3 separate regions of the Homo sapiens genome follow, and all the other regions are linked to region 3. Evidence: promoter capture Hi-C in human tissues and cell types (Jung and others, 2019). All regions are on one chromosome and are shown on one strand. The core of a region is centred on a gene start or on the middle of the fragment in contact, and the rest is flanking DNA. Distances in the headings are between cores, read along the strand shown. Region 1 overlaps USP2 (ubiquitin specific peptidase 2). Region 2 overlaps LOC105369519 (a long non-coding RNA gene). Region 3 holds the start of HYOU1 (hypoxia up-regulated 1).

What was found. The method cuts DNA at HindIII sites, captures the fragments that hold promoters and counts their contacts. A contact is called where the count stands out against the background at its distance.
Region 1: a fragment that was not itself captured here is called in contact with the fragment with the promoter of HYOU1 in region 3 in 1 of the 25 tissues and cell types used here (dorsolateral prefrontal cortex).
Region 2: a fragment that was not itself captured here is called in contact with the fragment with the promoter of HYOU1 in region 3 in 1 of the 25 tissues and cell types used here (spleen).

What each region holds. Positions count from the first base shown.
Region 1 is chr11:119,353,028-119,357,222 of GRCh38, forward strand. It overlaps USP2 (ubiquitin specific peptidase 2), which reads right to left. Exons shown (of 13, transcript NM_004205.5): 12 at 4,160-4,195; 13 at 2,188-3,895. The coding sequence ends at 3,808. Among named protein-coding and RNA genes, the nearest start is that of MFRP, 8.4 kb to the left of the region's middle. The HindIII fragment of the contact is 6,124 bases long and covers 1-4,195 here.
Region 2 is chr11:118,696,845-118,700,928 of GRCh38, forward strand. The region is part of intron 2 of LOC105369519 (a long non-coding RNA gene); the gene reads left to right. Among named protein-coding and RNA genes, the nearest start is that of TREH, 19 kb to the left of the region's middle. The HindIII fragment of the contact is 7,665 bases long and covers 1-4,084 here.
Region 3 is chr11:119,054,790-119,059,328 of GRCh38, forward strand. HYOU1 (hypoxia up-regulated 1) reads right to left here and starts at 2,416. Exons shown (of 26, transcript NM_006389.5): 1 at 2,231-2,416; 2 at 1,281-1,378; 3 at 961-1,054; 4 at 704-782; 5 at 396-550; 6 at 195-271. The coding sequence starts at 1,371. RefSeq lists enhancers at 1,514-2,014, 2,015-2,514, 2,874-2,923 and silencers at 1,994-2,273, 2,364-2,643. The HindIII fragment of the contact is 15,957 bases long and covers 1-4,539 here.

The sequences.
Region 1 (4,195 bases), core at 214-2,713, 300 kb after region 3:
AGGGAGAGGCCTGCTGGATCAAGAGCAAACAATGAGGGAAGAGAGCCAAGTTGCTAGGAGGCAAAGCTTGATGGACAAAAAAACGTGGGGACAGACCTGCGTGTGTTTGTGCTCTGTGTAACACTAGGACCTGTTGCCATGGGGATGAGAAAGCACCACAGATTAATTACTGAAGAGCTGGGAGCAAGGGTGGCGGACCTGAGTGGAGCCCCTGCCCTCAATGTCTCCTAGAGTCCATCTGTTCCCCAGTGGAAGACAGCAAAAATTACAGGGCTGCTTCTACCTCCAGTGAAGAACTAGTCAGAGTACAGCCATTCACTTTGCTACAAGCCTCATGTTTTTATTTTGAGGGGATCCTGTTTGCCTGCGGCTTGGGGGCAATCATCAGGGTAAGATTTCCAATCACAGCCTGGGTCAGGCCACCCTCAGGGCAGGCCAGGGAAGTTTGGGTCCCTCAGGGAGAAATTCCAAGTTTTAAGTCACTGTCATTTTCAATCCCTCTTCTTCACTCTTGGGAAATGCTTAGAAAAATGCCCCCACAACTGTCCCCCTCCATGAGGTGGGTTTGATAGCAGCACACAGGCCTTAAGTGACAGCAGGTGCTTCTGTCTCAGCAAGGATGGAATAGTCAGGCCTTTATTTTTCAGTGTCTGGAGCAGTGAAGGCAGTGAGGAAGAATCCTGATGAAACACTCCAGGCTCACCTGGTGGAGCCTTCAGCTTCCCTAGTTCTAAGACCAGCAGCAGAAATGGAAAAGCTGAACAGTGCTAATGAAGAGGTGACACCAAAGGAGACGTGGGTCACCGAGTGCACCAAAGGCATCACCTCTTTTAGGGGTTAAATCTGAAGTCTTGAGAAAAAGCACTTTAGGGAACAAAGCCTGTAACATAAAGGTAACTGTTTCTAAGTATTAGGTGGTAAAGCTGAGATCTTTGACTTATCAAAGACTAAGCCCTGGCTGGGCGTGGTGGCTCACGCCTGTAATCTCAGCACTTTGGGAGGCCGAGTCAGGCAGATCACCTGAGGTCAGGAGTTCGAGACCAGCCTGACCAACATGGAGACACCCCCGTCTCTACTAAAAATAGAAAAATAGCTGGTCGTGGTGGCGTATGCCTGTAATCCCAGCTACTGGGAGGCTGAGGCAGGAGAATCGCTTGAACCCAGGAGATGGAGGTTGCAGTGAGCTGAGATCATGCCATTGCGCTCCAGCCTGGGCAACAAGAGTGAAACTCTGTCTCAAAAAAAAAAAAAAAAAAAAAAAAAGACTAAGCCCTGGTCACTCCACATCCAGGTAATGATACTCTGCTCTAAGAGCAAGTTTTGCTATATTTGACATCTGCTGGAGAGATGTATTTTATCTTATCATAGGTCTGTGAAAACACCCAAGTGTTTCTTTTTTCATAGAGACAGGGTCTCACTATGTTGCCCAGGCTGGTCTCAAACTCCTGGCCTTAAGCCATCCTCTCACTTCAACTTCTTGAATTACTGGTGTGAGCCACCATGCCCAGCCCCAAGAGTTTCAACCAAGAATTAAGAGAGTAGCCCATACCAGCATTAAAAAGTAGACAGTTCATTAAAAAAAAAAATGGACATGTGAAAACCATGTCACATAGGAGAATGTCCTGATTCTTAGGAGATGTATGCTCAAGTATTTAGAAGTGGTGATATAACACCTCACCTGAAAATGTTTCGGCAGACAGAATAAAGTACAGTTGACCTTTGAACAATGCGGGCTTGAACTGTGTGGGTCCACTTTCACGTGGATTTTTTCAACCAAATAAGGATAGAAAATACTGCATTTGTAAGATGCAAAACCCACATATATAGAAGGCTGATTTTCATATACGCAGGTTCTGCAGGGGTGACCTTGGGACTTGAATATGGTGCAGATTTTGGTATGTGTGTATCTTGGAACCAATCTCCCTGTGTATACTGGGGGATGGCTGTATATTTAAATGTGTTTGTAAACAATTGGTGAATCCAGATGAAGAATATAGTGTCCAAAATATGTATTGTTTCAGTTTTTAAAAAATTAAACTTAAATGTTCAAACTAAAAAGTGGGTAACTTTTTCCAGAAACTTGGAATTTACAAACTGGTTGAAACAATGAAATAGATGGCCCCTAATATACTAGGAGCCCTTCCTAGATTCAAACACTCCCAAATCAAGATTCCAACATCTGCCAACTGATTTCTCAAAGCTATTATTTATTCTGTACAAGGTTCCACTGTACATTAGACATTCTTCTACTCTTGCTTACACAGTAAACAAGTGTACACTTGCCCTTGGGCTCAGGTTCACAGGTCTTCTCTGGAGAAGGGTGTCAGGCCAGTAAAACTCAGGGTGTCTTTCTCTGATGCCTCCTCCTAGGAGCCTGGAATGTGCCAGGCTCCACGGGGCACAAGCCGGGCCCAGCTGTGTGGGTGAACAGCTTTACTCTCCAGGACAGCACAGAGTTTTATCCAACTATGTAGGGCAAAATTGAGCCCACAGGAAAGAACCATACAACTGAGGCAAGATGTCCCCAAATACCCAGGCTCCAGCTCCCAGGGCAGGACTGGAGACCAGCGCTAAGAAGAGCTGAGGGGTGGCCTGGGCATCCCTGAGAAACTCGGTCCAAAGGGCCTATTGTCTAGGAGGCTCTGAGAAGGGGGCGGGGGCAGGAAGGCCAGGGGGAAAGGGATGTTAAGAGAATAAATAAAAGGGAGAGAAGCTCTAGGGACGAGGGGCTTGTGCTATCCTTCAAACAGCTGGGGAGCAGACCAGGGGTGGGCTAGAGGACGTGGGCGGGAAGAACTTGATGCCCTGTCGGAAGGAATCTACCTGCTTTCTTCTTTGCCTCACTGCAATGCACAACGAGCCAGGGCTAAGGGCAGGATCCCTTTCCCAGGCGGGTTTGAACAGAGCACTGGGGAAAAGGGAAGAGGCTGAGGGATATTTCAGGAGGGGCAGTTACCCCCTGGTCCCCAAATGCTATAAGGCACAATTCTTGGAGGCAACTAAATTCCATTCAAAACATTAAAAAAAAAAAAAAAAAACCCAAACCCCCAAAACAGAAACTTGTTTTAGATCCCAGGTCTACTGTGGCTGTGCTTGGGGCCTGGCCAACGCCCACCTAGCACCACGGAGGGCTAGCATTAGAAAGTTGTACTTGGAAAAGCAATAAAAGGACCAGTGCAACGTCCCAGCTATGAAGAGGCCTGAAGGAGAGCACTCCAGTCTGAACACTTTAGTTATGGAAATTAAAAAAAAAAAGTTGGGCTTTTTAAAAACCAAAACCAGCGTTTTCCAAAGATGTCCCTTCGTCTGTCCCCTGGAGTTAGCAGCGTGAAGAGGGCTCTTGGCTCATGGCTCTGGACCGGCGAGCCGTGCGGGTGGAGATGGGCGCCGGCTCCTCCGCGGCGCGGGCGTCCAGGCGGTGATGCTCCCAGCGAGCTCCAGAGGGCGCTGTCCCCTCGGAGGCGCGGGCGCTGCGGCGGGAAGCGGCGCAGCGAGGGTCTTCCCCCCCAAGACACAGTTGTTTCTGACACATAGGAAGACCACAAGTTTACAAATGCAAACGCCGAGGGCACGGGGCGATGCTGGCTCCACGTCCAGGCGATCTTCCCTGCCGGGCCACAGCTCAGGAAAGCCCGGCTCCTTGCTCCAGACCCTGATCAGGCTGCATCCACTCCTGCTCGGCAGCTTCAGGTTTGTTTTTCTCTTGTCAGGTTTGTGTGTTGTTGTTGTTGTTTTGTTTTTGTCTTTTTAAAAAATTTAGGGAGCGGGGCCACCACGGGGAAGGGAGAAGGGACGTGGCTCCTGGCGCTACATTCGGGAGGGCGGGCTGGCCAGTTCGTAGAAGAGCAGGTAGGCGTCGCTGGTGCGCACTTGGCTGGAGGACATGGGAGTGACGCTGCGGAGAGAGCGGGGAGTCAGCCCGGAGCGGGCAGGACCGGGAGACCCCCCGCCGGCTTCTTTCTGTGCCCCCGAGGCCGGCCGGCCTGCCTTTCAGGGAGCCTCCCCACGGGCAGCGGCTTCGTGGCCTTAAACTTTGCCATCCATTCTCGGTGTAAGCCGTGCGGGGGGTGGGAGGGGGGTGGGTTTGGGGGGAGGGTGGAGGAGTGGGGGGAGAGTGGGTGGCTACAGCCAGGGGCTCCGGCCCTGCCCTGGCTCTCACCTGGAGTCGTTGAAAGTGTGCCATTCTCCTGTCCCT
Region 2 (4,084 bases), core at 1,274-3,773, 360 kb before region 3:
CCTGGCAAATATTCCAGAAGGCTCAGAGGAGGCGTGTTGAGAGTGTTGTCAGCCAATCACCACAAAGCTGCTCCTTCAGGAGCCTTCTCACTCTGAACCTCACATAACACAAGCCTGTGGCTGGAGGGAGGGTGGCAGGGGCCTACCTGGGCATTACTTCCACGCTTGCAGCCTCAGGGTAACCCTGGTGGTCAGATAAGCAAAGATCAGCCTCAAAGCAGCAAATAGGACCATGTCCTCTGGGGCCTTACCATGGTCCGCATGCAGTCCAGGCTTGGCTTCACCATTTGCATGAGAGCTCAGAGGACACCCATGGCCACAGAGGCTTAGCTCAGCCAGGGGAATGGAGACAGTCAGTAACATGGAGGTGAGATCATAGCAAACACCTTCATCTCCGGTTCAAGGGGGAAGGGGTCACCTGCTGGGGAAGGAGGAGGCTCTGGCAGGTGACGCTGAGCTGGAACGTCGACCACCTTCCTCACGGCCTTGGCAGTGAATTCCAGATGCCCAGACCTCTGCAAACAACTTCCAGCAAATGCAGCGAGGACAGCAGGGCACCTACTGTTGACTCAAAAAGACACTTCCAGGTTTCCCCAGAAAAGGCAGCCTTTGCTGCTGCAGCCCCTGCGGATGACGGCTTGTTTAATAGCTCAGATTCCCCAGGCAGTTTCTCCACCCTCCGCTGCTGGGATTCTTGCAATGGCGATGTGGTGGGTCGGCCTGGAGAGGGTGGGTCAGGAAGGATCTTCTGACTTGGAGACTTCCAGGGGAGACAACACCACACACAAGGCCCTGCTCCAGACTTGGCAAGGATGATGCCAAATACGCGGAGGCAGCTGCAGGAGGAGCTTGTTCCCAGGATAAAGAGGTGGTCAGCTGGCCAGGTACAGTGGCTCATGCCTGTAATCCCAGCACTTTAGGAGGCTGAGGTGGGCGGATCACCTGAGGTTGGGAGTTCGAGACCAGCCTGCCTAACATGGAGAAACCCTGTCTCTACTAAAAATACAAACAATTAGCTGGGCGTGGTGGCAGGCGCCTGTAATCCCAGCTACTCAGGAGGCTGAGGCAGGAGAATCACTTGAACCCGGGAGGTGGAGGTTGCAGTGACCCGATACGGTGCCATTGCACTTCAGCCTGGGCAACAAGAGCGAAACTCCGTCTCAAAAAAAAAAAAAAGAAAGAAAAACAAGCTGGGTGCAATGGCTCACGTCTGTAATCCCAGCACTTTGGGAGGCCAAGGCAGGTGGATCACCTGAGGTCGGAAGTTCGAGACCAGCCTGACCAACATGGAGAAACCCTGTCTCTACTAAAAATACAAAATTAGCCAGGCGTAATGGCGCATGCCTGTAATCACAGCTACTTGGGAGGCTGAGGCAGGAGAATTGCTTGAACGCAGGAGGCGGAGGTTGCGGTGAGCAGAGGTCATGCCATTGCGCTCCAGCCTGGGCAACAACAGTGAAACTCCACCTCAAAAAGAAAAAGAAAAGAAAAGTCTACAGTATAATGGTAAGAAATGTAAGCGTGTCAGATTCTGTTTTTAGAACGGAAGCATAACAGATCCACCGAAAGCATCCTGTGTTTGGTGTTCCCTTTCCTACCTGGGTTCCTCGCCCACCCAGGCATGACTGCGCTCCTGAATGTATGGTGTATCAGTCCCCTGCATGCTTTTATACCTCTGCTGTTCATGCGTGGATCTGCTAGGGTTGCTTGGCATGTTTTTTTGTTGTGGTAAAATATACATGGCATAAAATTTTCTATCTTAACCACTTTTAAGTGTACATTTCAGGGACATTAAGAACATTCACTTTTTTTTTTTTTTTTTTTGGAAACAGAGTCTTGCTCTGTCAACCAGGCTGAAGTCCAGTGACGCAATCTTGACTCATTGCAACCTCGGCCTCCCAGGTTCAAGTGATTCTCCTGCCTCAGCCTTCTGAGTAGCTGGGATTACAGGTGCCTGCTACCACGCCCACCTAATTTTTGTATTTTTAGTAGAGATGGGGTTTCACCATGTTGGCCAGGCTGGTCTCGAACTCCTGACCTCAGGTGATCTGTCCACCTTGGCCTCCAAAAGTGTTGGGATTACAGGCGTGAGCCACCGCACCTAGCCCTTTTTGTTTCTCTTCACTTTTGTCCTACTCCTGTCAAATTTTTCTTTTTTTTTTTTTGAGACAGAGTCTCGCTTTGTCGCCCAGGCTGGAGTGCAGTGGCGCAATCTTGGCTCACTGCAACCTCTACCTCCTGGGTTCAAGCAGTTCTCCTGCCTCAGCCTCCCCAGTAGCTGGGATTACAGGTGCCTGCCACCATACCCGGCTAATTTTTGTATTTTTAGTAGAAACAGGGTTTTGCTATGTTGGCCAGGCTGGTCTCGAGCTCCTGATCTCAGGTAGTCTGCCCCCCTCAGCCTCCAAAAGTGCTAGGATTACCAGTGTGAGCCACCGCACCCGGCCTCAAATTTATTGATTCTCTTACTGCTCGAACCCAGGAGGTGGAGGTTGCAGTGAGCCAAGATTGTGCCACTGCACTCCAGCCTGGGTGACAGAGCGAGACTCAGTCTCAAGAAAAAAAAATGTATTGAGTCTCTTTTATTACTTTTTCTAGTTTTATTTCTTTATTTGTTTATTGTTCATACATTTGTTTGTTTGTTTGTTTGGGCTTGGAAGTGATGGATTTCATTCCTAGTCTCTCATGCTTCCCTCCATCCACATTTTTCACATGCGCACTGAATTACAGAATCTAAAGCTAATCAGAAATTGTCCCCTGCAGGAGGAAAGGCACTCTTTAGCTCTGATCACACCTTCTGTCTTACAGACTGTCACTCGGCATCACAGGCTGACTTTGTTTTCATGCCTCCAACCAATCATCGTCATTGCTGCTGTGGTTCCCACCATCAGTGCTTCTGTGGACTTACCCACATGTTTACCAGTTTCTTTGCTCTTCATTGCTTTCATTGCCCTCTCACTCCTTTTGAGGTCAATTTCCTTTCTCTTAACAAAAATGTATTAGCAGCTCTCTTGCTGATGGTACTTTAGGATAAACTCTTTCAAAAGTCTTCCTCTGAAAAGACCTTGTTTTAATTTTTAAATTTTGTTTTGTTTTAGAAAATTTTCATGTGGAGCCTCCCATTGATGAAAAAATCTCCATTTCACTTTTACTCGTTGTGGTGCATTATCAACAAAGATGGCCACCAACAGTTTTGTTCATCCCTGTAATGTCACTCCTCCCATCAAGAAGTGGAATGTGGCCGGGCGCAGTGGCTCACACCTGTAATCACACCACTTTGGGAGGCCAAAGTCGGCAGATCACATGAGGTCAGGAATTTGAGAGCAGCCTAGTCAACATGGTGAAACCCCATCTCTACTGCAAATGCAAAAATTAGCTGGGCTACTCAGAAGGCTGAGGCAGGAGAATTGCTTGAACTCGGGAGGCGGAGGTTGCAGTGAGCTAAGATTGCACCACTGCACTCCAGTCTAGCTGACAGAGCTAGTCTCCTCTCAGAAAAAAAAAAAAAAAAAGAAGTGAAATTTATTTCCTTTCGCCCCTCCCCTTAAATCTGGGCCAGCCTTGTGACTCACTTTGACTAGTAGAAGGTGGAAGTGATATTATGCCAGGTCCAGACTTAGGCCTTAGGAGGCCTGGCAGTTTCCATTTTCACCCTCTTGGGATCCAGCCACTATGAAACCAAGTTCACCTGCTTTATTGGAGAGAGAAATGACCTAGAAGATGAAAGACAGCAAAGGGAGAGCAGGATGCCCAGCCAGCCACCAGCCATTCTGACCCCTTCAGCTGAGGCACTGCATGGGTGAGTGAAGCTGTGGGATCTCACAGTCCCAGTTGAGCCACCTCAGCCAAAACATCACATAAGAACACAGATGAGCCGTCCCAACTGAGCCCTGCCAAACTACAGAATTGTGAGCAAATAAATGGTGGTGGGTTTTTATTTATTTATTTATTTATTTATTTATTTATTTATTTGAGACATGGTCTTGCTTTGTTGCCCAGACTGGAGTGCAATGGTGTGACCACAGCTCGCTGTAGCCTTGACCTCCCAGGCTCAAGTGATCCTCCTGCCTCAGCCTCCTGAGTA
Region 3 (4,539 bases), core at 1,166-3,665:
TGCACTGTAGGATGTTGAGCAGCATCCCCGGCCTCTACCCACTAGATAGCAGGTGCACCCCTCAGATGTGACAACCAAAATCTATCTTCAGATGTTGCTAAATGTTCCCTGGGAGGCAAACTTGCCCCTGTTGGAGAATCACTGCCCTAGATCCTGGGGAGCCTGGCCCTAAGGGCCCCACCTTGACCACTCACCTGCAAAATCTTCAGCTAGAGAACGAGAATAATTGAGAACCATGCCCAACACTTCCTCAGGTGAGAACTGCAGCTGCCTGAGGGGAAGGAAGGTAGTTGGAGCCAAGGAAAGCCAGGCATTAAGGCAGGACAATCAGGAACACACACCAATGAGGAGCCCAGCAGCGTTGCCGAGACCACCTTCCCCAACAGAGCACTCACGAGCTGATCTGAAAGTGCACAGTCTGCCTCTGTGGGTCGAAAGTCAGCTCGTGCTCCGGGAAGCGGGCCTGGTAAAGAGCTACATGGGGGTTATCTGCCTGCTTCCCCAGGAGGTGCTGGAAGTAACGTAGCGTAGCCTTTGGATTCTTAATCGCCTGAGGGGTGAAGAAGGAGCAGACTAGTATTAGGCTCCCAAGTCCACCATTACCTACCTCTTACATCACAGAGACTGATAAGGAAACAGACTCTGGGGGCTGCCATCTCCTCTCCTCTGCCCACCACTCTGGGAAGAGGGACTGCTAGCTCACCATGCTTGCTGCACTGTCTCCAAAGAATCTTTCATTTTCTTTCAGGGTCACGATCACCGGTGTTTTCCTCCGAGATTCCCTGAGGAAAAGAGATTTTGGGCCCAGGTGCCTGCAGCAGAAGGACTCAGAAGCCTCGACACTCACACACATTTAACCACTCAGATGCCGAAGTCTGCTGTGGGCACTATGACTAACACATTCACACTTGGAGCCCAGACTCCCTCGTTCCCCACCCTTAACACGGGGGCCACCCTCACTTATTCAAGACAATTTCCATGGGCACTCCAGGTTTGACAATGGCCACCTTCATGGACTCACTGCCCAGGTCCACAGACATCACTGCCAGTGTATCTGAAGGGAAAAGAGGTTTGTCAGTTAGCTCTCCCTTCGCCCACCTTCCTGGGACTCCCTCTAATCAAAGCATACCACTTTCCATGGGTAAACGAAGATGGCAAAAGACAAAAAGGCCTGGACCTAACAACTCAAGAGACTTCTGGCCAACAGCCCCAAGCTCAATTCCCATCATGCATCCTTCAGTCATCATTTATCCATTTGCTCCCTCTACTGGGGTACATACCACTCAGTGCCAACAGGTCTGCCAAGAGCACAGCCACCAAGGCCCAACAGACTCGCCTCCTCGGCCTCTGCCTCCTAACTTTGTCTGCCATAGTGCCCCTGGGGGAGGCGAAGAAAGAAAACACTTAAAACTGGATACCCGGAGTGAAGGAGACAGAATCACATCCCAGAACGGAGAGGCTGTAAGATTCATATCTACTTCATTCTTACCCAGGGCAGATCAGCCTACTTCTCCCCTTCTCCCTCCTGATGGGTACAAACCATTCTCTAATCATCCCAGCAGCGCCCACACAAAGGCCCAAGTGAAAGAGCATGGGTCCTCGGCTTTGCCACATCCCTAAACAGAGAAGCTAACAGGACAAGAGAAAGGAGACCCGAGCCTTTTGTCCACCACACAGGCAGTGAGTGGCGCACCGCAGCACTGTGCCTGTTGTCAGACACCTGGGGTGCGGCCAGGGATCCCCGCCCAGGGCTCAACCACCTCCCCACACCTGGAGCTCCCCCGCTGACGGGGAAAGCCAGCTGGGCCTGGACGGGAAGAGAAAGGTAATGACGTTGGGGGTAGCTAGGATGAAGGAAAGGCCTATCTCCTCCTCGGCATCCCTGCGGGTTGTCCCGCCCCCTCCCCTTTCCCAGCTCACTCCCCGGCCCCGCTGTGCCCACAGACGCAGTGCCAGGGGCGGTAAGGTTCCCCGCCCGGCGGGTAGCCGTTACCCGGTGTTCACCTAAACCCCACCTGACGAAGGCGGCGGCTCCCACTCCCGGAAACGGATCCCGGCCCGCCCCAGCAAGTGGGGACAGACCGGGGGCCGAGCTGCGTGCCCCCCGGTGCGAGGCCGAGCGCCCGGCGTCCGCGCGGCCCTCCCTTGCGCTCCCGACCCGCCCCCGGAGCTCGCACGCTGTCTCCCCTAGGAGGGGTGGCCGGCCCGCACCTCCATCCACCCCCGCTACCTCTTGCCTCCGCTCCTGCGGCCCCAGCTCTGGGACAGACGCGGCACGAACGTACCCACGAGGCCGGCAGCGCCCCCCACCCGCGCCCTTCACAACTCCTCTCGGTTTGCAAACTGTTACATTAGCCACCAACCTCTCGGCGGCGTCTCGCGCACCAGCCGGCCCCGGACGCGGCGCGCGCTCATTGGAGCCTCGGCCGCCCGGCCCTGCGCTGCGCGCCCGGCCCCGCCCCCGCCGCCCCGGCGCGCGTACTCATTGGACCACGTCCCAGGCCCCGCCCCCTCCCTTTGCCAGCCTTGTAATGGGGCGGCGGAGGGGACCAGCCACCGGTTGGGCAGAAGCAGCCGGCGTCGGCCTGGGATTGGACCACGTCACGGGGCCAGCGCGCTCCACTCCTTCCTCCCCAGCGCCGGCCCCGGGGCGACCGCGGGACCTTTTCCGGCGCTGGATGCTTTGCTGCCGGGGTTCGGGAGTGACCTGCGCCTAGAGCAGGTCGGGCGCACTGCAGTCCCGCACTCGGGGCTCTTCTTCCGGTCACCTGTAGAGCCCGGCCGAGGAATGGAATAACAGGCGTCCTGTCCGCAGCCCCGCGGAGGGGGCGCTGGCCTGCCGGTTAGTATTGAGGTGCCCTAGGCTTTGGATAGACGTTGGAGAATGGCTGTCCCTCGGACTGAGTCCGTCGCAACCCCCTCTGTTTTACTGAGGAAACTGAAGCCACAGAAAAAGATGTTTGCTGATGGGTCAGAGATAACCGATGCATTCGTCGCAGAATCTGGCCAGGATTTCTTAGGTTAAGCCCCACTCATTTGTATAAGAAAGAATATTCCAAACTTAAGTACTACACACAAAAGACACTTTTATTTGTGAGGCTATAGTTGGTTGAGCTTGTGTGCACCTTCTCCTATTTCTGTTCTATTAAATCTTGTGAACATTTCTCTACTCTTTAGCTGTTTCTGTCATAGAATGACAGAAGCACCTCACTGCCTTCTCTTTTAACTTACAGCTCCATAGAAATGTGCGCAGTCGCCCGGGCGCGGTGGCTCACGCCTGTAATCCCAGCATTTTGGGAGGCCAAGGCGGGCGAATCACTGGAGGTCAGGAGTTCGAGACCAGCCTGGCCAACATGGTGAAACCCCGTCTCTACCAAAACTACAAAAATTAGCCAGGCGTGGTGGCGGGTGCCTGTAATCCCAGCTACTCACGAGGCTGAGGCAGGAGAATTGCTTGAATCCGGGAGGCAGAGGTTGCTGTGAGCCCAGACTGCGCCACTGCACTCCAGCCTGGGCGACAACAGCGAGACTCCTTCTCGAAAAAGAAATGTACGCAGTCCTTGGAGACTGCATTTTCCTTAAGTGTGGATGGAAATAAGTCATCTGTTTTCTCTCCTACTAAGTTGATGCCTGGCCACCCTTCACAGAAAGGCCCGCTTGAAGACCCTGGCTGTCAGGGCCAGGGTTGTGTCAAGCCTGAACTTGTTTAAGGAGCTCTTAGCTCTTCCTTTCTCTACATTTTTCGTGATGCTTAGGTGGAGAGTGGTCCGGTGTCTATGCTTAGAAGGAAAAATTATTGGCAGTCCCAGAGAGAGTCTATTCTTCCTTTTTTTTTTTTTTTTTTTTTTATTGATCATTCTTGGGTGTTTCTGGCAGAGGGGGATTTGGCAGGGTCATAGGACAATAGTGGAGGGAAGGTCAGCAGATAAACAAGTGAACAAAGGTCTCTGGCTTTCCTAGGCAGAGGACCCTGCGGCCTTCCGCAGTGTTTGTGTCCCTGGGTACTTGAGATTAGGGAGTGGTGATGACTCCTAACGAGCATGCTGCCTTCAAGCATCTGTTTAACAAAGCACATCTTGCACCGCCCTTAATCCATTTAACCCTGAGTGGACACAGCACATGTTTCAGAGAGCACAGGGTTGGGGGTAAGGTCATAGATCAACAGCATCCCAAGGCAGAAGAATTTTTCTTAGTACAGAACAAAATGAAGTCTCCCATGTCTACTTCTTTCCACACAGACACAGCAACAATCCGATCTCTATCTTTTCCCCACCTTTCCCCCTTTTCTATTCCACAAAACCACCATTGTCATCATGGCCCGTTCTCAATGAGCTGTTGGGTACACCTCCTAGACGGGGTGGTGGCCGGGCAGAGGGGCTCCTCACCTCCCAGAAGGGGCGGCCGGGCAGAGGCGCCCCCCACCTCCCGGACGGGGCGGCGGCCGGGCGGAGGCGCCCCCCCACCTCCCTCCCGGACGGGGCGGCTGGCCGTGCGGGGGCTGGCCCCCCACCTCCCTCCCGGACGGGGCGGCTGGCGGGG